Linked DNA regions of Homo sapiens: all the other regions are linked to region 3. The links are contacts of gene promoters, found by promoter capture Hi-C in human tissues and cell types (Jung and others, 2019). All regions are on one chromosome and are shown on one strand. The core of a region is centred on a gene start or on the middle of the fragment in contact, and the rest is flanking DNA. Distances in the headings are between cores, read along the strand shown. Region 1 has its middle 420 kb from the start of LRFN5. Region 2 has its middle 290 kb from the start of LRFN5-DT. Region 3 holds the start of LRFN5 (leucine rich repeat and fibronectin type III domain containing 5). Region 4 has its middle 360 kb from the start of LRFN5. Region 5 has its middle 270 kb from the start of LRFN5-DT. Region 6 has its middle 330 kb from the start of LRFN5. Region 7 has its middle 190 kb from the start of LINC02315.

The links. The method cuts DNA at HindIII sites, captures the fragments that hold promoters and counts their contacts. A contact is called where the count stands out against the background at its distance.
Region 1: a contact is called between a fragment that was not itself captured here and the fragment with the promoter of LRFN5 in region 3, in 1 of the 25 tissues and cell types used here (H1 embryonic stem cells).
Region 2: a fragment that was not itself captured here is called in contact with the fragment with the promoter of LRFN5 in region 3 in 7 of the 25 tissues and cell types used here (H1 embryonic stem cells, dorsolateral prefrontal cortex, heart left ventricle and 4 more).
Region 4: a contact is called between a fragment that was not itself captured here and the fragment with the promoter of LRFN5 in region 3, in 1 of the 25 tissues and cell types used here (adrenal gland).
Region 5: a fragment that was not itself captured here is called in contact with the fragment with the promoter of LRFN5 in region 3 in 6 of the 25 tissues and cell types used here (H1 embryonic stem cells, adrenal gland, dorsolateral prefrontal cortex and 3 more).
Region 6: a fragment that was not itself captured here is called in contact with the fragment with the promoter of LRFN5 in region 3 in 2 of the 25 tissues and cell types used here (H1 embryonic stem cells and dorsolateral prefrontal cortex).
Region 7: a contact is called between a fragment that was not itself captured here and the fragment with the promoter of LRFN5 in region 3, in 2 of the 25 tissues and cell types used here (H1 embryonic stem cells and mesendoderm cells).

Annotation. Positions count from the first base shown.
Region 1 is chr14:42,022,430-42,025,232 of GRCh38, forward strand. No RefSeq gene overlaps it. Among named protein-coding and RNA genes, the nearest start is that of LRFN5, 420 kb to the left of the region's middle. The HindIII fragment of the contact is 6,760 bases long and covers 1-2,803 here.
Region 2 is chr14:41,300,811-41,303,673 of GRCh38, forward strand. No RefSeq gene overlaps it. Among named protein-coding and RNA genes, the nearest start is that of LRFN5-DT, 290 kb to the right of the region's middle. The HindIII fragment of the contact is 3,928 bases long and covers 1-2,863 here.
Region 3 is chr14:41,605,486-41,608,679 of GRCh38, forward strand. It overlaps LRFN5 (leucine rich repeat and fibronectin type III domain containing 5), which reads left to right and starts at 1,391. Exons shown (of 6, transcript NM_152447.5): 1 at 1,391-3,077. The HindIII fragment of the contact is 3,229 bases long and covers 1-2,772 here.
Region 4 is chr14:41,966,646-41,969,653 of GRCh38, forward strand. No RefSeq gene overlaps it. Among named protein-coding and RNA genes, the nearest start is that of LRFN5, 360 kb to the left of the region's middle. The HindIII fragment of the contact is 3,977 bases long and covers 1-3,008 here.
Region 5 is chr14:41,317,188-41,320,199 of GRCh38, forward strand. No RefSeq gene overlaps it. Among named protein-coding and RNA genes, the nearest start is that of LRFN5-DT, 270 kb to the right of the region's middle. The HindIII fragment of the contact is 6,864 bases long and covers 1-3,012 here.
Region 6 is chr14:41,939,954-41,942,856 of GRCh38, forward strand. No RefSeq gene overlaps it. Among named protein-coding and RNA genes, the nearest start is that of LRFN5, 330 kb to the left of the region's middle. The HindIII fragment of the contact is 4,826 bases long and covers 1-2,903 here.
Region 7 is chr14:41,146,079-41,149,058 of GRCh38, forward strand. No RefSeq gene overlaps it. Among named protein-coding and RNA genes, the nearest start is that of LINC02315, 190 kb to the left of the region's middle. The HindIII fragment of the contact is 5,817 bases long and covers 1-2,980 here.

The DNA of each region.
Region 1 (2,803 bases), core at 300-2,799, 420 kb after region 3:
GAGGGTCAGAAAATCATGTTAATTGTACAGGAACTATTCAGTGCACAATATTGTATACCAAGATGTTCTATCTCCTGATGAGGCACATCTTCCTGTGAACCTCTGAAGTAGACATACATTAACTTTGTTTATTAAAACAAGATATCCTGATGCTGAGTAACTTGCTGGTGCTAAAAAAATTATTACATTTCCTGTGTGCCTGAAATCCTCCAGAGTAGCATGGCTATTAAAGGACAAGTGCTCTTTTAACAAATGGAATATGACCTAGGATAACATGCCAATTATTATTTAATTGCTATAGAAACATTTTTACATGTTTTGGATCATTCCCTTCATACTCATGGAATACTCATGGGATCATACTCATGGAATCATGGAATACTCATGGAATCATACTCATGGAATACTCATGGAATCATACTCATGGAATCATTCAACTCAAAAAAAAAATAGCAAACCTTTGTTAACCATGCAAGGAATTCTTTTATAATAAAATTAGCAGTAGAATTATTGGGCCTTCCAGTCTAGTGATTTTCAAAAGTTGGGCTTCATGGTGCCATTACAATCTTGAAAGTTACTGAGGATGCCAGAGAGCTTTTGTTGATGTGAGTTACATCTAGTGATATTTGCAATATTAGAAATTAAAATGGGCCGGGGGTGGTGGCTCACGCCTGTAATCCCAGCACTTTGGGAGGCTGAGGCGGGTGGATCACCTGAGATCAGGAGTTCAAGACCAGCCTGGCCAACATGCTGAAACCCCGTCCCTACTAAAAATACAAAAATTAGCCGGGCATGGTGGCACGCACCTGTAATCCCAGCTACTCCGGAGGCTGAGGCAGGAGAATCACTTGAACCCGAGAGGCGGAAGTTGCAGTGAGCCAAGATCACACCATTGCACTCCAGCCTGGGTGACAGAGCGAGACTCTGTCTCAAAAAAATAAATAAATAAAATAAATAAATAAATAAATAAAAGATATTAAAGTGGATATTTAAAAAATTTAAGTGACATCAATGAATGTTAACATAGTTTTAAAAATATACCTATATTATAAAAAGAAATAGAAACTGATATTATTTTGCATTTAAAAAAGTCTTTCTAATGTTTGGCTTGAGAAAACATATGGGAATATCAGATCTATTGGTGCATTCATCCTGTTGCATACTATATATCATGTAACCTCTGAAAAAATATCACTGTGCAAACATGCAAGTAAAAAAGCAAATAATCTCTTAGTACTAGTATAAACATTGTTTTAACCTTTGGCACCTTTAAATTTTCTCAGAGAACCTCAAGGGTTTCCAGACCACATTTAGAAAACCACTGTCCTAATTTTATGCATTTAATGACTGTAGAACGGCACTACTGTGTAAGATCTCTAAGACTCGTGTTATCTATTTAAATATAAGTTGATTATAATTAAATAAAACTGTAAAATTTAGTTTCTTATTCTCACTAACCTCTTTTTAGGTGTACAGCAGCTACATGTAATTACTGGCTACTGTGTTGGGTAGCATACAGATTAAACATTTTCCTCACCATAGAAAGTTAAGTTGAACAGCATACTGCTCTATTCTTTATGATGTTTCTTTTCTTCTTCTTTTTTCTTTTTCTTTTTTTTTTTTTTTTTGAGATGGAGTCTCGCCTGTTGCCCAGGCTGGAGTGCAATGGCACAATCTCAGCTCACTTCAACCTCTGACTCCCGGGTTCAAACGATTCTCCTGCCTCAGCCTCCTGAGTAGCTGGGATTACAGGCACGCTAATTTTTTGTATCTTCAATAGAGATGGGGTTTCACCATGTTGGCCAGGCTGGTCTCAAACTCCTGACCTCATGATCCACCCACGTTGGCCTCCCAAAGTGCTGGGATTATAGGCCTGAGCCACGGTACCTGGCCTATTTTTCTACTTTTTAGGAGAGAGTCCTTCCCTTTGGTCAGTGTCCGTTCATTTTGGCTGCTGTTAGAGAATACCATAAACTAGATGGCTTATAAACAACAGAAGTTTATTTATCACATTTGTGGAGGTTAGGGGGTCCAAGACCAAGGTGCCAGAAGATAAACTATCTGATGGAGTCCTGTTTCCCAGTTCATAGACAGCAGTTTTCTTGATGAAACCTCACTTGGTGGAATGCAAGGAAATTCCCTTGAGTCATTTTTTAATAGGAGCACTAAATCCATTTGTGAGGCTTCCACTCTCATGACTTAATCAACTCCCAAAGGCCTCATCTTTAAATATTATTATATTGGGGATTGGGTTTCAACATATAAATCTGGGGGACAAAAATCTTCAGTTTATAGCATTTTAAGAATAATCCTCTTTGACTCAGTGGTCTGCCTTCCAGGATGACTGGGGCAAAAGTTTCAACTTCTGAACTTGCTGAAGCAGCAACCCTGCTCCCTCAGCTTTGCTGGCTAGGGCTTGGACTCTGACATAGTTCTGATGTGTGTCCTGGCCCAAATTGCGTGTTGAACTGTCATCTCCATTGTTGGAGGTGGGGCCAGGTAAGAGGTGATTGGATCATGAGTGTAGATTTCTCATGAAAGGTTTACCACCATTCCACATACTGTCCTCACGATAGTGCGTGAGTTCTCACAAGATCTGATCATTTAAAAGTGTGTAGCACCTCATTTCTTATTCCTGCTCTGGCCACGTGATTTGCCTGCTCCTGCTTCACCTTCCACCATGATTGTAATTTTCCTGAGGCCTCCACAGAAGCCCAGTAGATGCCAGCAGCATGCTTCCTGTATAGCCTGCAGAACCATGAGCCAATTAAACCTCTTTTCTTTATAAATTGCCCAGTCTCAG
Region 2 (2,863 bases), core at 349-2,848, 300 kb before region 3:
TGATGTTTATATGAATAGGATATTTAAAAAAAATTTGTATTTCTTATTCTTGCATACAGTATCTTTTAAAATATTAGGAAGAGCCCAGCTTAGAGAATTATATCCCTTCTTGGAAGTAGACTTAAACAAAATGAAGCACTGCCAAAATCCAGATTAATGACTTGTGATGTGATTCTGTGTTAACTGCATCAACCAGGCAAGTCCTCTAAACTTTACTTGTATATTAAAGGAAAAAAAAAATACCACTATATTAGGCCATTATAGAGTTTTAGATAGAGAGGAGAGAAATAGAAATCCCCTCACCTCCCTTCAGGGAGGAACAAAGCAGGTAGAAAAGGGAATGTTGTTGAGGTATCTTTAATAATGCGATTATGTAAATAAGCAGAGTATGTGTGGCAGATTGTATTGTTTAAAATGTTTGCTGCCCCTCTCCCTGTGGAAGGATTCTGTATATCTGACCAACTGCCATCAAGTTTAACTATGAGACTTGCTTTAAGCAATATAAGTGAGCGTAAATGTTGTGTGAGAGCCATCAGAAGCTTCTGCTGTAATGGTGATGTGGGGCAGAGCATTGGCATTTAACCTAAAGAGGAAATTAACATTTTTCTTTAAGTCACTGAGATTTGAAGATTAGTTTTTACAGCAATATAATTTAGCATATATGATATTGTTTATCACTTTTTGCTAACCTCGGCACTGAAAAAGACTCCATTTAGCACTCATCTCATAGTATAAATAGGAGAAATAAACTTTCAGAAAAAATAATTAGTACATTCAGAAAAGTATCCTTTCTTATCAAAATTTTGAGTAGGCTCCCAGGAAAACCTACTTACAGGATGAAAGGAAACAAAGACCAAACAATGTGCCCCTTATCAGAGGACCAGTGTCTTGGAAATCACTCAGTAAGACAATAAAAAGTAAATAGAAATTAATATATAAACTTCGAGGGAGAAATAATTTTATAATTTTATAAATTCAGTTGTATTTCTTATTTGTGATTCATTTATCAATGGAGCTCATATTTAGTTTTTTTCTTACTCTGTATGCCCTTTAGACAACACACAATGTATATTACTACCCATAGGTGAATGGTTCTAGAGCTAGTTTTTACTTTGTCTTTTATGTTTTAGACACATATAAACTGCTACTAAATATCTCTATATGATATTCCAAAGGCAATTTCCTTTGTGAGTAGTAACAGCATTCTTCTAATACTTAGACCAAAATCACAGGAGTTATTCCACGGACCTCTCCCATTCAATTAATGGTTAATAAATCCATTTAATTATATTTATTTAACCTTCCTCTGATTAGAGCTTCTATTGCCCATAATCCCCAATGTTTCACCTGTATTGTTACATTCATATTTTAGTTTCTTTACCTTTAGGCTCACTACATATATATCTATCCTCAACATAAGCAAGTGAAAGGTCTGTCAGAAATGTAAATTTAACCATATAAGTGCCTCTTCTGTTTCTAAACTTAGTAAATCTCCATTTACCAAAACAAACGATCAAACTTTGCAGCACATAATTGCAAGCTTTCATGATCTTCTTTCTTTATTTCTCTGAAATAATTTTCTACCTCTTCCTTCATAGGACCTACATATTTACCATTCACTTGCAAAATACTTCATCATAAAGCACAGACTATATGCATATATGTCAAAATACGGTAAAAGAATACTCAAGAATACTAAAAGATAGTATTTCTTCCATATTTAATTGTAAAGCATTTCACTTGTAATCTTCAGCAAGTTTGTTTCAGTTACTTGTTTGTTTTCTCATGACACTGATCCATATGGTATCAGGACAAAGAAGCTAAGTACTGATAGTCCCTGACACCATGAAAAATAATCTCAACCACAAATAATCAATCTATTCTCATTGCACATTGAAGCAGATTTCAGAAGTGTGTTTTTCCATAGTGTCTATACAGATACAAAAATGTGTTGTTGTTTCATTGTATGTGCACACAAAGCTTGCGGAATACAGTTTTTTTAAAGCATATTCCATTCGTATCTTATAAAGGTGATTAATTTAAACTTACAAAATATTTTAAATGAATGATTCAAGTTGTACACAAATAAAAAATTTAGGAGAAGTGGCTTATATATGTGCCTCAAGCTTAAGAAACAGCTCTCTATTCTCATTGTTCGTCACAACAGGGGGTTGCAATGGATGAATGGCTTTGAGATCACATTAAATGCCTTGAAGCTTCATCCAGATGCTAGAATAAAAACTTAGACAACATATTCCACTCTTGTGGAAATCAGTCCTTTACAAATCTAGGTGCAAAGATTCACTGCAGGGTATTAAAAAAAACCTGCAGAGCCACTGGACCAGTTAATGATGTCTCCCTCTTCTTAATCATAATTTTAATCATCATAAAACTATAAAGCAAGAATTCAGACAACAGTAAGGGAAAATAAATAAATGCATTTGATTATGTTTCAGTCTTCTGAATCCTGACACACAGTTGAAATAAATGTGATTCTTACGTTTCCATACACATTAACAACAAAAGCAAGTAATGGCAGTAATTTTGCCTATTATGAGAAAGATAATTTTTTTAAACTCCTCAAAATCAGATTCACCTTTTGCTCTGTCTTATATTAACAAGTCTTTGTTCTTATATTTTGAAAACTGTATTTTCTAATATGTAAAGGTAATTTATCTTGTTTTTAATATTTCCTGGATATGCATTTTAGGTGAAAATATTTTGTTTTATTTCTCAATAATTATAAGCAAAATACAATTTATTTTTATTCTCCCATTTCATTATTGAACCTGTGCTCTAGTGACAACAATTAATTTTAATACTCATCTAGGCAAATCTGTCTCTGAAAATTAACCGTTTTATT
Region 3 (3,194 bases), core at 141-2,640:
AAGCCAAGGATTGGATCCGGAGTACCAGGGGCAGAGAGGGGGAGCAGAGGAAAGAAAGGAGATGTGAGGAGTTTCCACCTAAAGCACTTCACTCCTCGTGTTCTTCCCCGACAGAGATAGCTGTGTGGTTCTTCCTTACGCGTGGGTGCAGGTGTGCGCGCTTGGGGTGAGCCCATGGTTGTGCTCGAGTATACGGGCGCCTGTGCACCTCCAGGGCAATGGTAAAGCCTGGCAGAGCTCTTTTTGGAACAAAATGAAGGAGCTCCATATCCACGGAGGCCACCCGTATGGGCCTTTGCCAAGTAGGGCAGAAGAAGCCCTTGTTAGCCAGCTTCCCTTTGCAACTTCCTACTCTTCCTTTGGGTACAGACTGGTGTCTGGGCTAGCTAGGATCACAGCTGAGAGCGAAGGTGCTCTCAGTGTCCGAAGACCACGTGCTGGTGAACCCACAATGAGAAGCGAAAGGGTTTCAGGACTCTAGCAGAAAGGAAGAGCAAGATTTCACTCAGGGTTTCTTAGAAGAAAGAGTTAACTTTGCTCACTGGCTTTTCCAGGATGGAGGGAGTGGGGATAGGGTCGGGGAGAGAAGCATTGGGAGTCTTGTCGGAGTCTCAAGCAAAACCAGGCGAGGGCTCCGGGCAGATCCATTCCCGCAGGGCCCTGTCTAACCTCCTTTCCAGTCGCACCTCTTTCCTGCTTTAGACCCTGCGTCTGTGCCGGTGACCTTAGAGACTAGGTCTGGCTTATGAAGACTGTTGGGCTCCCTTTCTGCCCTTCACATAGTAAAATGTGACCAACTGCAGTATTCGTAATGTCTGATGCTGAGCTGAGTTGATTCCCAAATATAAATGTTCTTTTCAGAATCCGCTCCCATCTGATTAGTAAGCAAATCACCACCCACAACTAAGGGGACAGCGGAAGCCAGCCTCAGATGACTGAAACCCCCAAGTCAGTAGCTCTCCTCAAAATTTCCGGCGGGTTATTATAGATAATGACTTTTCCCACCGCCCTAAGCAGCCGAAGCTTGACTCAGTGATGATTCTCTCTATCCCGTAACTGCGAGGAAGTGGGCGATCAGCAAATTGCCCTTTTGCAGGAGGCTGGGGACGCCCCTGGAAGTTCGCTTTCATTCTCCAGGTTTTCTGCCTTTTCCCTTCCCCCTTCCTGCAACGCCCCCGCGCCTCCTCAGCCTGGGGATTTCCTGGCGCTTCGCCGGCCCTCTCCGCAACCCCCTGATAAATCGGTTCAGAACCAGTCTGGCTGGGAGGCCCGAGGGCTGACAGCAGCGGAGCGGCCCCGGCCGGGGTCTCACGGACTCTCGGGGTCTGGCCGACACGGCCGCTCCCGTCACTGCAGCGCGGGCTGAGCTCACGGCCGCGCGCCCGCCGCCGCCGCCGCCGCCGCCTTCATGCTGCAGCGCAGGGCTCAGTTCCACGCGGCCAGGAGGCCGCCGTTGCCCACACGCGACGCTTTGGGAAGCCCAGCTCCCGGGTCCGCCCCGGCCGCGGCCGCAGCCCCGGACCTCGGCTGCTTGCCTCGCGCCTGAACTGCGGACTCGCCCCAGCGCGGTGGCCAGCGGGCGGGGCGCTGTGTTCCGCGGCGCGCAGGGAGGCGGTGAGCGTGTGCAGAGCTGCCCGAACGGAGGACTATGTATGTGTGTGCGCGTGTTTGCGTGTGTTTGAGCGTGTTTTTCCTTCTTCCCTTGAGGATGTGAATTGTTTAGCAGCTGGCTGCTCCCTTAGGATCCTTGACTTTGGGGAGCTCTGGCTGTGAACACAGCCCACCCATATAATCCATTTTGCACGGTCCGTTATATCAGAAAAAAAAAGCGCAACTGGACGGGGGTGGGGCAGACCAACGAAACCTAGACAGACACACACACACTCAGAGGAGAGAGGAAGAATTGAAAGACTTGAGAAGACTTTGATAACCTCCCTGCTGGCCCTTCTGTGTTCCGGAAAGATCCTGGATGTTGGCTACCTTTTCAAGTCATCTTGGCATGTCTCTAGTGTTTTGTAAGCCGCTTTCCAGCTAGCTGCGTGTGTGTGTGCGCGCGCGTGTGTACGCGCGCGCCTATCTGATGCATTTGACTGTCTTTTATCCAACTGCCCAGAAGCAAATGTGTTAACTCGGCGATGCCCCTTCATGCCCGGGTTCTTGCAGAGCTCTGAGGACGCCCAGACCCATTTTCCTGGCTGGATTTGGAGCGGCTGCTGGGCTGTGGACCCAGGTGTGTGGATCGCTTTACCCAGAAGCTTGGAAAGCGCCAATATTAACCTGCTTCCAGGTACATCACAAGGTCAAGAGAGTGTCTTGCAGCCCTCTTGTTTCCGTGTATCTACACCTTCTTCTCTTGGCCAGAAGGATATTTACGTTTTGGTTCACAGCATTTGAAGCCAAAAGTTCAGCCCTTCGAACTGGTTTGCTATACAAAACAAAACAAAACAAATAAGGTAATGAGGATTGCTTATTAAACTGCTTAACAAAATCCCCGACTCTTCCTCAGCCCTTTCTCGGCTCCCTCCTCCCCACCAAAATGTCACCAGCTCTTGAATTACGTGGATTCGGGTTGGAGGAGAACTTGAAGGAAACGTGATTAAAGGGCTATGCGAGAACGCTCTCTTTGCTGCCCGCGGTCCGGTGGGCTTCGAAGCCAATCGTGAGAAGGACCGGTTCCCTCCGTGCTGCTTCCTCCCCGTGCAGTGCTGGGTGTGCGTGTGCGAGTGTGAGTGCAAGTGCGCGCGCGCCCGGGTGCGAGTGTGTGTGAGTGTGAGCGTGTGTCTGTGTGTGCGTGCGCGGCCGCCCTGCCTCTGCCCGCTCCCCGGGCGCGGAGCCGCGGGTTTCATGGGGCGATTGCAGCGATTCCCCCACCCAGAGCGACCTGCGGGCAGCGGCGGCAGTGGCAGGAGCCGCCTTTCCGATTCCCTACGATGCGGGTGCTGAGCTATGGCAAAGGGCAGCGAAGTGACGAGCGAGACCCGCGTACGACTGTGAAAGCCACCTGGAGCCACCTTGCCGGGATTGTACCTGCAGGCAGAAAGTCTTCCTACGACCGTCTTTTCCCTTAGAGGCACCAGGTAACAAACCAACGATTACTCGCCTCACCCAATTTCCTTTTGATCTTGTTTCTAGTGTCTTATCTGCATTGCAGGCTACTTTACTTATTAATGTTTTGAAAATCATTGGGAAGGGTT
Region 4 (3,008 bases), core at 225-2,724, 360 kb after region 3:
TTTTTTGCTTTCCATTTGCTTGGTAGATCTTCCTCCATCCCTTTATTTTAAGCCTATGTGTGTCTTCACATGTGAGGAAGCTCTCCTGAATACAGACATGGGTCTTGACTCTTTATCCAATTTGCCGGTCTGTGTCTTTTAATTAGGGCATTTAGCCCATTTACATTTATGTTTAATATCGTTATGCTTGAATTTGATCCTGTCATAATGATGTTAACTGGTTATTTTGCCTATTAATTGATGCAGTTTCTTCATAGCGTTGACGGCCTTTACCATTTGGCATGTTTTTGCAGTGGCTGGTACCAGTTGTTCCTTTCCATGTTTCGTGCTTCCTTTAAAAGAGCTCTTGTAAGGCAGGCCTGGTGTTGACAAAATCTCTCAGCATTTGCTTGTCTGTAAAGGATTTTATTTCTCCTTCACTTATGAAGCTTAATTTGGCTGGATATGGAATTCTGGGTTGAAAATTCTTTTCATTAAGAATTTTGATTATTGGCCCCACTCTCTTCTAGCTTATAGGGTTTCTGCCAAGTGATCTGCTGTTAGTCTGATAGGCTTACCTTTGTGGGTAACCTGACCTTTCTCTCTGGCTGCCCTTAACATTTTTTCCTTTATTTCAACCTTGGTGAATCTGACAGTTATGTGTCTTGGGGTTGTTCTTCTCAAGGAGTATCTTGTGGTGTTCTCTGTATTTCCTGAATTTGAATGTTGGCCTGCCTTGCTAAGTTAGGGAAGTTCTACTGGATAATATCCTGAACAGTGTTTTCTAACTTGGTTCCATTCTCCCCGTCTCTTTCTGGTACACCAATCAAACGTATATTTCTGTTTTTCACATAGTCCCATATTTCTTGGAGGTTTTGTTCATTTCTTTTTGCTCTTTGTTTTCTAATCTTGTCTTCTAACTTTATTTCATTAAATTGATCTTCAATCACTGATATTCTTTCTTCCACTTGATTGAATCAGCTATTGAAGCTTGTGCATGTTCACGAAGCTCTCATGCCATGGTTTTCAGCTCCATCACGTCATTTAAGGTCTTCTCTACACTGTTTATTCTAGTTAGCCATTCGTCTAACCTTTTTTCAAGGTTTTTACCTTCCTTGCAGTGAGTTAGAACATGCTCTTTTAGCTCAGAGAAGTTTGTTATTACAGACCTTCTGAAGCCTACTTCCGTCAGCTCATCAAACTTATTCTCTGTCCAGTTTTGTTCCCTTGCTGGTGAGGAGCTGTGATCCTTTGGAAAAGAGGCACTCTGTTTTTTGGAATTTTCAGCTTTTCTGCTCTGGTTTGTCCCCATCTTTGTGGTTTTATCTACCTTCAGTCTTTGATGTTGGTGACCTACAGATAGAGTTTTGATGTGGATGTCCTTTTTGTTGATGTTGATGCTATTTCTTTCTGTTTGTTAGTTTTTCTTCTAACAGTCAGATCCCTCAGCTGCAGGTCTGTTGGAGTCTGCTGGAGGTCCACTCTAGACCCTGTTTGCCTGGGTATCACCAGCGGAGGCTGCAGAACAGTAAATATTGCCACCTGATCCTTCCTCTGGAAGCGTTGTCCCAGAGGGGCACCCACCTGTTTGAGGTGTCTGTTGGCCCCTACTGGGAGGTGTTTCCCAGTCAGGCTACACAGGGGTCAAGGACCCACTTGAGGAGGCAGTCTATCTGTTCTCAGAGCTCAGTCGCCTTGCTGAGAGAACCACTGCTCTCTTCAGGGCTGTCAGACAGGGACATTTAAGTCTGCAGAAGCTGTCTGCTGCCTTTTGTTCTACTATGCCCTGCCCTCAGCGGTGGAATCTATAGAAGCAATAGGCCTTGTTGAGCTGTGGTGGGCTCCGCCCAGTTTGTGCTTCTGGGCCTCTTTGTTTACACTGTGAGCTACTCAAACCTCAGCAATGGCGGACACCCCTGTCCCTGCCAATCTGCAACATCACAGGTCAATTTCAGACTGTTGCGCTAGCAGTGAGCAAGGCTCTGTGAGCTTGGGACCCACTGAGCCAGGCACAGGAGGGTATCTCCTTGTCTGCAGGTTGCACAGTATTTGGTCAAGAGTGTACAGTTTCTCCAGGTACAGTCTGTCATGGCTTCCCTTGGCTAGGAAAGGGAAATCCTTCAACCCCTTGAGCTTCCTGGGTGAGGCAACACCCTGCCCTGCTTCAGCTCACCCTCCGTAGTCTGCACCTACTATCCAACCAGTCCCAATGAGATGAACCAGGTATTTCAGTTGGAAATGCAGGAATCACTCGTCTTCTGCATCCGTCTTACTGGGAGCCGCAGACTGTAGCTGATCCTATTCGGCCATTTTGGAAGCGCTCTCTTCATTCTTCAGGATGTTATTTTTTAAATGTCTAGCACTAGAGTTTCTTTGACAGATTAGATGGTGAATCCTGTTTCAATGCAAAGATCCTTTTGGATACACCTGCACTTCAGCATGAAACCTTTAATTATAAGCTTCATTCACTTGGCATAATGTTTTCTTCATTTTTAATAAATATTTTATTTTAGAGCATTTTTAAATTTACAAAAAAGTTGCAAAGAGGTTATATAAAGATTTTATATACTACTCATTTAACTTTCTCTATTGCCTTCCCAATTAGAATATAGTGCTTATGCACAGTTCCTTAATGCCTTTAATTTTAAAATTTACTTGGGTCAGTATATTTACCCCACATCTTTCAGTGAGGTTATTTTACACACTTACAAGGTTAGATGCTTTTGTAGCATTCTATATTATATCCTGGAATTCCCTGCTCTCCTACATTATTTAAAAATGTTTTTATACATTATGTTTTTATTTTTGGTGCTATAATATTCTATGGCTTTTAACAAAAGCATAGTGCCACTATCCATGATTACAGTGTCATATAGAATAGTTTTACTGTTCTGAAACATTCACTGTACTTCCCTTACTCAAAACATACCCTTCCCCAAATTCCTGGCAACCACTTATCTATAATTTCTATAGTTTTGCATTTTCCAGGATACTAGCTGAATGGAATGGTGCAGTATGTTGTCTTTACA
Region 5 (3,012 bases), core at 400-2,899, 290 kb before region 3:
ACTAATTTTTGAAACTTAAAATACCTAAAATTTAATTATGATTAACATTTCATAAGCCGTGGACCTGATTGAAAGTGATCTCTTGACTGTTTCATGGAATGACTAAATATTGTATTCCCTGACTGACAAGTTTTGTAATGTCAAGGTTATTTGACCAAATAAAATTGAAATTTCAAAAATAATTTCAATATTTATTTGCACAATGATGTCAAGTCATAACTATATTTTCTTTAAATCATCTCAAGAATAATTTACCACAAAATGTTGCAGATTATTTGAAGTTATTTTGTCTAATTATTTATTTTTAGATGAAGTAAGTGAAAGAAAGAAAAACATAGTAATTTACCTAATGATAAAAAAGCCAAACTTGAAGACCACCAAAACCATGTTATGCCAGTTCTAATGAAGAATAATAAATCCTATATTTAAATTTTACAGTTGAAAAAAATTTTTTTGAAAAATACATCGTTAATTAAATTTAATTTTTCTCAAACACTTTGTCTTTCAACTGGGAGCTCTCTGAGAGCAGAGATTTTTGTCTGTTTTTTATACTTCCTACTTTCTTGATATCTTTTTTTATTCAACATGAAGAACAGAGGCTGGCATTAAAAAATAAGCTTTGATAGTTGATTCTCAAATGCATGAATATATAAGTAACCTTTGATGTCTCTGGCAGAATTGACAGCAAAAAAGGAGGATAACTTTTATTGGCACTTGTAAGTTAGGTACATAAGAGTTGGAAGTATATTGCATAGTACTTAAAACTTAATTTAATGTGAACATGTAAATTCAAGAGTATCTTTTCAAAACTCAAAAAGAATCATATTATTTGCTTGTTTGTTTTTCAATAATTTTTATTAATAATTCTAGTCAGAAATATTTTAGTTGCAAAGAATAAAAACCAAATCTAACCGGATTAAAATGTTTTTTAAACACCTAAACATTTTTTAAAAATGTTTAAAGCATATTAAAGTAGGGAATTCTCACAACATTCCAAAAAAGAGCTAACATTGGTATCTTGGGAAGTATAAAAATCAAGTTATCTCTAGGAACTCCAATGCCAAAAGTTCATCAAAGACATTCCCTATGCATCAGAGTTATCTTTCTTCAGTTACATTTTGTAATTTGCTGCTATTTTATCACCAGCCAATTCAGCCTCTAGATGTCTCAGTTCTATACTTCTCAGAAATATTTAGCTCAGCACAGACTAAATATTTCCACCATGTTCACTATGTGTCTACCTCAATCCAACGTTTACTTTCTTTGTGTCATCCATTGCAGTCTCTCCCTCTTCCCAGGGAGGTTTTAATATGAGAAGCGAAAGGTTAGTGGTGGCCATCAAACTGAATAACATCTAAAATTAAAATCTTGAGAATAAATTTTGAACTTCTTCAATTGTCTCCTGGTTAGCCTCAATCTACCATTTATCTGTTTACTTACTGTCTCTAGTTGCATTTCCCCATACTCCACACATACATGCATATTGCATTTGAGGCATAAGCCTATGCCTTGGCTGTGTTTCCCTCTGCTGGAATTGTTTACCCTTCCTTCCACTCAGAAAAATCTTACTCCTTTAAAGCCTCAGCTGAACTGTAACCTCTTCCAAATCAACAAGGAAAGTCCATTTCCACCTCCACTGGAATCCCTTGGCATTTTAATTATACTGTTCATATAGCTGTTCATGACGTGGCTGACTTTGTCATGGTCCCCATGAGAGCTCCATTCACGCAGGCATCAGCATAACATAATTCCTGGGCCTGTTGTCCATTTTTGTGCCTTTCCCATTTTTGTTAAAAGTTTAATTTTAAAAGCCTCATCATTATTTCCAATTGCTGTTTCTCCATTTTCTCCTCCTAAACAACATACAACTCTTCTTGACAAAGTTATTTACTAACATTACTATAAGTAACTGATACTATTGGAGTTGTCCAAAATGTAAACAATACATAAGTGGTACCCATAAGATATTACAAAAGAAAAATTTCTGACTGAAAGTAACTGTGTATGCTAAGTCAACAGAATTTTAGACATCATCAACTTTAATTACATTAGCTGCCCCAAACAATCACAACTCAGATTAAATTAGATGGTCTAACAACATGAACAGTTTTCCATTCTTCCTATTCTAAAAGGCATTTTAAAATACAGAAATTTTATTTCAAGTGTTTTCTGTCCTGGAGATTAATGTTTCAACAGCTAATTCATTCAGTATCACTTAACATATTAGTAAAAGAATTATCATAACCCCCAAAAACACAAGTTGGAAAACAATGCTTCTTTTTTTGTTAAATTTTAATATGTATTTGATACATGCTACAGATAGGGGTTTTAAAATGCTCTACTGATTGATCTTCTCTCAGAAACTTTAAACCAAAGTTTTATGCTATTAAGATTCTGACTTATATTCAAATAAACTAAAAGTAACCAAACATGCCATCAATAAGCCTAATAAGATCAGTATTAATTTTAATATTTTTCTTCAATTTTTTGTTCAATTTTTGAGTCAGATATTAAAAGTAGGAATAATATATGAACACTTCATTAACTCCTTATGCCATACATTTTTAACATTATATTTTTCTTTAACTAAATAATAGACCAAAAAGAATTAATAAAGTATTATTCCATATTGACAGGGAAAAGGCCACTGACTAAGCTACTCTTCCTTATTCAGTATTTAGTAATTATAGATTATGTAAAGACAGATAAATTGTTTGAAAGATTAAGAATTTCAATTTCTGCTTCTGGCTAGTATGCACATGGATTATCATGCTAAATATAACTGTATTTTATTTTTACCGTAAAGAATACTTTTCATTAATTATTAGGATCACTAATAAGTATGGCAAGAGAGAAATGGGAAATAAATCCATTAAAGTGTAAGGATTAATAAGGCTAAAAATGAGATTGACAATGACTCACTAAAATAAGGAGAATACATCCCCCCACTTTCAAACATTAACCTAGGAGTCCTCCATGAGCGATAACTGTTTCTAGGATAGGAATATCTAC
Region 6 (2,903 bases), core at 275-2,774, 330 kb after region 3:
GGAAACAAATGCTAGAAAAGGTATGATTTCTTAGTTGTGACAGCAATAAAATTAATAAATATTAAGACTTAAATATAGCTATTCGATAACAAATAAATTTCATGAAGCACACAGAAAAATAAGCTGTGTTTAGTTTTAGATCAATCTCAGCACAATCGTGAAATATACCTTCCATCTGAATCTTTTATGTTTAGAAAGTATTTTTATATTTTCTAAAGATATTCAAAAAAACCTAGAAATGTCATTTTATTTAAAGTTTGAGGAATGGGTGTCTGACATTCAAATCAGAGAGATTAACAAAGGGGTTTGCGACTGCTGAAAAGAAAGTTTCTGGAAGCCAGCCTTTCAATTGTGAGTAGTATTTGCCTCATTAGATCATAGAATTCAAGTAAAAGTATATTATAGGCTTCATTTCATACATAGCATAACACACAAATTTACTTAATATGCATTGTTTTCTTCTAATTCCCCCTAATCTATTCCCTTTCTAAGTCAAATGTTTGCATAACCGCACTAAGGAAAATGGTTATTTGCATATAAGCAGAAGAACAGTGACATACAATATAAAAACAGTAAAGTTAAGGCAACTATGCCTCTTTAAAAGTGCTATCCATTTCCGAGGCTCTCTCTGTCTTTCCTCTGATTTCACACAAATACACAACTCACATAAGAACTCCACGAAATAATTTTTATCTTCCTAAAATTGCTTATTACACATAAGAGACCTTCAAGTAGTTATTGTAAATTAATTGAATTGATCCACTCTGAAATATAAAAGTACTTTTAGGAACCCATTCATTAAGATATTACTCTAAGTCAATACGAGGAGACTTTGAAAAGCTTGTGGAAAAAGGAATTACAAGGTAAAAATGAAAAATATAAACTTTATTCCTCAACGTAAGCTTGATCAAGGTCATGATATTTTGTAAGTGATGCTATCAGCCATTTAGTTCATTCCTAAAGAACTGATGGTTCTGGGAATTTAACCATGTCAATGCAGTATTTTTACATTATTAACTGAAGAAAAATTGGTGCCTTTTAAAGTATTTTTGTTTGTTTGTTTTCTTTAAGATTAGGAAGCAAAAAGAAGTCAGAAGGAGCCAAATCAGGACTCTAAGGTGGATACCTTAGATAAGGTGGATTTTTTCCCATTGAAAATCTTGCAAAATGGCCCTTGTTTGACGAGAGTAATGAACGGGCACATTGTCATGGTGGAGAAGGACTCCCTAGTGAAGTTCTCTTGGGCATTTTTCTGCTAACGCTTTTGGGTAACTCTCTTAAAATGCTCTTGTAACAAGGAGATATTATTTTCTTTGGCCCTCCAGAAAGTCAACAAACAAAATGACTTGACATCTCAGAAAACGATTGCCATCATCTTTGCTCTTGGCTGGTTCACTTTTGCTTCGACTTGACTACTTCCACCTCCACATAGCCATTACCTTGATTTTGCTTTGTCCTCAGAATATTACCGTTAAAGCCATGTCTCATATCCTGTTACAATTTTTCAAAAATGTCTTCAGGAACTTAATCCCACTTGTTTAAAATTTGCATTGAAAGCTCTGCTCTTGTTTGCGGCTGATCTGGGCACAACAGTTTTAGCATTTGTTGAGTGCAAAGTTTGCTCAGCTTTAATTTTTCAGTCAAAACTGTGTAAGCTAAACCAGTTGAGATGTCAAGGGGTTGGCTATAATTTCTGCTGTTAATCATCAGTCATCTTCAATTAGGGCACAAACAAGATGAATTTATTCCTTGCAAATTGATGTGGATGGTCTGTCTCTGTGGATTTAATCTTCAACATCATCTCATCCCTTCTTAAGACAAGTTACTCATCTGTAAACTGCTGATTTCTTTGGGGCATTGTCCTCACAAACATTTTGTAATGCATCATGATTTCACCATTCTTCCACCCAAGCTTCACCATAAGTTTGATGTTTGTTCTTGCTTCGATTTTACCAGAATTCACGTTGCTCCAATAGGAGCTCTTTGCAAACTGATGTCGTATCCTTCTTAAGGCTTCAAGCTACTTCCTGTTCAGGTATGTTGTAACAAGCTAGGGTGAGTTTAATGCAGAAAGATGGAAAGCCATGCAGAGTTTCTTATATGTGTTTTCCGTCAGGTTTTTGAAGTCACTTTGCATAATAAAAGCCTAAAGACTAAGACAAAATTTTGCAGCATATTTTTACCATTAAAATATATTTTTTAATTAAAAAAATAAATGTTTCTCTATTATATATGACAAAATATTTATTAAGCTATCAGAGGTGATGAGAATAGAGACACATAGCTAAAGAGGAATAAAAGTAGAGTTAAGAAGAAGGAGAGATATTTTAAACATTAGATTATAGTAACATGAAGAGTAAACAAACAGCAAAATAATTAGCTGAAACTGAATCATTATTCTTTTAATTGTATGTTATGTGGATTCTTTTAATTGTATAAGTATACATAATACTTTGCATTCAAGAGTGAAGCACTTCCTTTTTTTTCCCTCAAAAATGACAATAGTTCTAAACAATGGAGAAGCTAACATATTTTTTAAGCAATTCTTCTGGAGTTATGATTCTCAGCAGGAGAGACCACTCTAGATATTAATTTTTAGAAATAAACTATATTTAAATAATTATATAAAGATTTAGAAATTATACCTATAGAATAACTATAAAAACTGAAATTTAAGAATAATATCCCAGACCGGGCGTGGTGGCTCATGCCTGTAATCCCAACACTTTGGGAGACTGAAGTGGGCAGATCAAGAGGTCAAGAGATCGAGACCATCCTGGCCAACATGGTAAAACCCCTTCTCTACTAAAAATACAAAAGAAAATTAGCTGGGCATGGTGGTGCCTGCCTGTAGTCTCAACTACTCGGGAGGCTAAGGCAGGAAAATCGCTTGAACCTGGGAG
Region 7 (2,980 bases), core at 166-2,665, 460 kb before region 3:
TATATCTGTTTCATTTACGAACTGTTGTATAACACATTTTCCACAAAATCTAATGATGTATAGTAGTACCCCCTTATCCACGGGGAAATCCCAGTAGCTGGCTGAATCTGCAGTTAGTACTAAACTTTATATATTCCGTTGTTTTTTCAACGTGATAATCAAAGCAAATAAGTAACTAATGGGCTGTGTATACAGCATGGATAGGCTGGAAAAAGATGATGATTCATGCCCCAGCTGGAACAGGGCAGGATAGTGTGAAATTTCCTTATGCTACTCAGAATGGTGCAAAATTTAAAACTCATCAATTGTTTATTTCTGGAATTTTTAATTTAATACTTTCAGATAATGGTTAATCAGGGGTAAATAATAACATGGAAAGCAAAACTGGGGATAAGGAGAAGACCACTGTTTAACAACCCACATGAAATACGTGGTTTGGGAATTCGGATGAAGCATGCCAGGGATAGTTTGTGCCTGTTTCCCAATGTCTGGGACCTCAACTAGAGAACTCAAAGAATGACAGTGACTCAATAAGATGAGAATGTGACCTCTCCATGTGGCCTGGGCTTTCTTTACAACATGGTGAATGGGTTGAAAGGCACCTAAAGAAAGACAAAGCTTACCTAAAGTCCCACTGGATTATCATATAGCCTAATAAACTAGTGACTTAGGCCACATTTTGTTCATTAGTACCAATACACTAGGGCCAACCTATATTGAGGAGAGGGGAGAAAGACTCCATCTTTAAATTAAAAGAATTTGAAATAATTTAGACACATCTGTAAAACTGTCACATTTATAAATGCACAATAATTTATATCCGTTTATGACCACGCATACCATCATTCTAATTGTTCAGGAAGTTCTTGACCAGGATGTCTGAAAATCCAATAAATAACTCATCTTTTGTTTCAGAAAATACTTATAAACTGATTTGTATGGGCAAATTCCTTGCTTATCTGAACAGGTAGAGGACATATTAGGAAAATTGTCTTCATATCTGGACAGATAGTTTATCAGGATTCTAGTTTTATTATCCTCATTTCACTGAGTTCACCAGTCTTAAACACCATGTCATAAACCTTACCCAACTGCAATCAATATTCTCACTTCAAAGACCCTCTGTAAACAACTTGTTTTCAGACCCTAAACTTATACATATCTACCCTAAATTTACCCTTGTTAGACACTAATAAGCCTCTGTTTTGTGAAATTATCCCTTGGTGGGTCAAGTTTAGCAAATTTAGTTTTGTTTGATCAACAGGTTATTTTTATAGTCTTCGTGGAGGGGTCAATAGTTATCATTTCTGAATGTTGAACAGAGGTTTAATTGAGAAATTCTCATTACACAGCCAAAAACCCTTAACTCAGAAACACTGTGCTAACCGGAGTACCATTAAGCTTCCAGCTTGCAAGTCTTTCCAGAATAATGTGAGAAAGCCACATAGTAGGTCTAAATTCTGACTTATTTTCAGTGAGTTTCCAAATGTTGAGTTTATTTTGTCTCTTAGAAGAGATAATTATATTTGAAAACTGTTGTCCTTAGTGAGAACCTGCCTGGATTTTAACAATACTACTTTTTGTCTCCTTAATAGTTCTTGACTGTGAGTCTATAATTAGAAACTCATAGGAAGAGAACAGTTCTAGATTTAATCTTTCTTTCTCTTGATATGGTACCCAAGGCTGAAATATTCAGGGTAATCTATAAGAACTTAGTGAGACTTCCAACAATTTTGTTGTTGTGTTCCTGAGACTTGCATTATGAAATTTCACCTGGAAGATCTGTGGGTTTTATTGGGTCTTTTGTTGATGATGACAATATTTGACTAGGTTCCAGAAGCACAAATTTAGGCAAGCATACTCAGTAGCATTTTCTTTTCTTATGGAATCTTCTGGATCTGTTTCTTTCTGAACCAATAATCTGTTCCCTTGTTATTATATGTACAAATATCTCTAATTGGAATAATTTCATCAAGGACAATTTGAAATCACATTGGCCACTTTGGTGAAATTTTGACATGAAAACAATTGTTCACCGAGAGGCCTATTTGTACAACGATGGGAGCAACATTGAAGAGGGACCTCTTTGACTTATTTGTCCAGATGAAAGATCACTTACTTCAATTTACGTAGACTTCCATTTGGTTCTGCACCTCCCTGATTATTTGTTACTAGTTTTGTTTTTGTATGGCTTAAAGGAATTCTCAAGGACCCAGGTTGTTTTTAAATGGCTTACTAATTCTTATTTTTTGTGTGTTATTTGATTTCAAAATGTGTTTTCCTGCATTTATAGCATCTTCTCTCCTTGCAGAAGGAATATAATTATTAGTTTTTTGTAATTTCTTACTTGCTTGTAGCAGGCTTCCCCTACTTCTCCTTTATGCTTATCTTTTCTCATTTCTTTCTTCTTCTGGAAAACTTTGAAGATTAACTGGTCATATTAAAATGTTTTGTTACTAAGTGTTTAATATCAAAAATTTAGTCTGAATATACAGTAAATAATTCCAAAAGAAAATAAAAAATAAATTTAATGGTTTTTTTATTCTTTAAAATGTTTGTTTGGTCTGGATGGATGTAGTGGCTCATACCTGTAATCCCAGCATTTTGGGAGGACAAAGCAGGCAGATCACTTTGAACTCAGGAGTTTGAGACCAGCCTGGGCAACATGGTGGAACCCCATCTCTACAAAAAAATTTAAAAATTAGCCAGGCGTTGGTGGCTCATGCCTGTAGTCCGAGTTACTTGGGAGGCTGAAGCTAAAGAATTCGTTGAGCCTAGGAGGCAGAGGTTGCAGTGAGCCCAGATTGTGCCACTGCACTCCAGCCTGGGTGACAGAGCTAGACTGTCTCAAATAAATAAATAAATAAATAAATAAATAAATAAATAAATAAAAAAGTTTACTTGTTTGTTATTATTCACTTGCCAAAAGTATTAACTCAGGAAAAGAAAAGAAAATAGATTCAACTATAAGTTTAAGTAA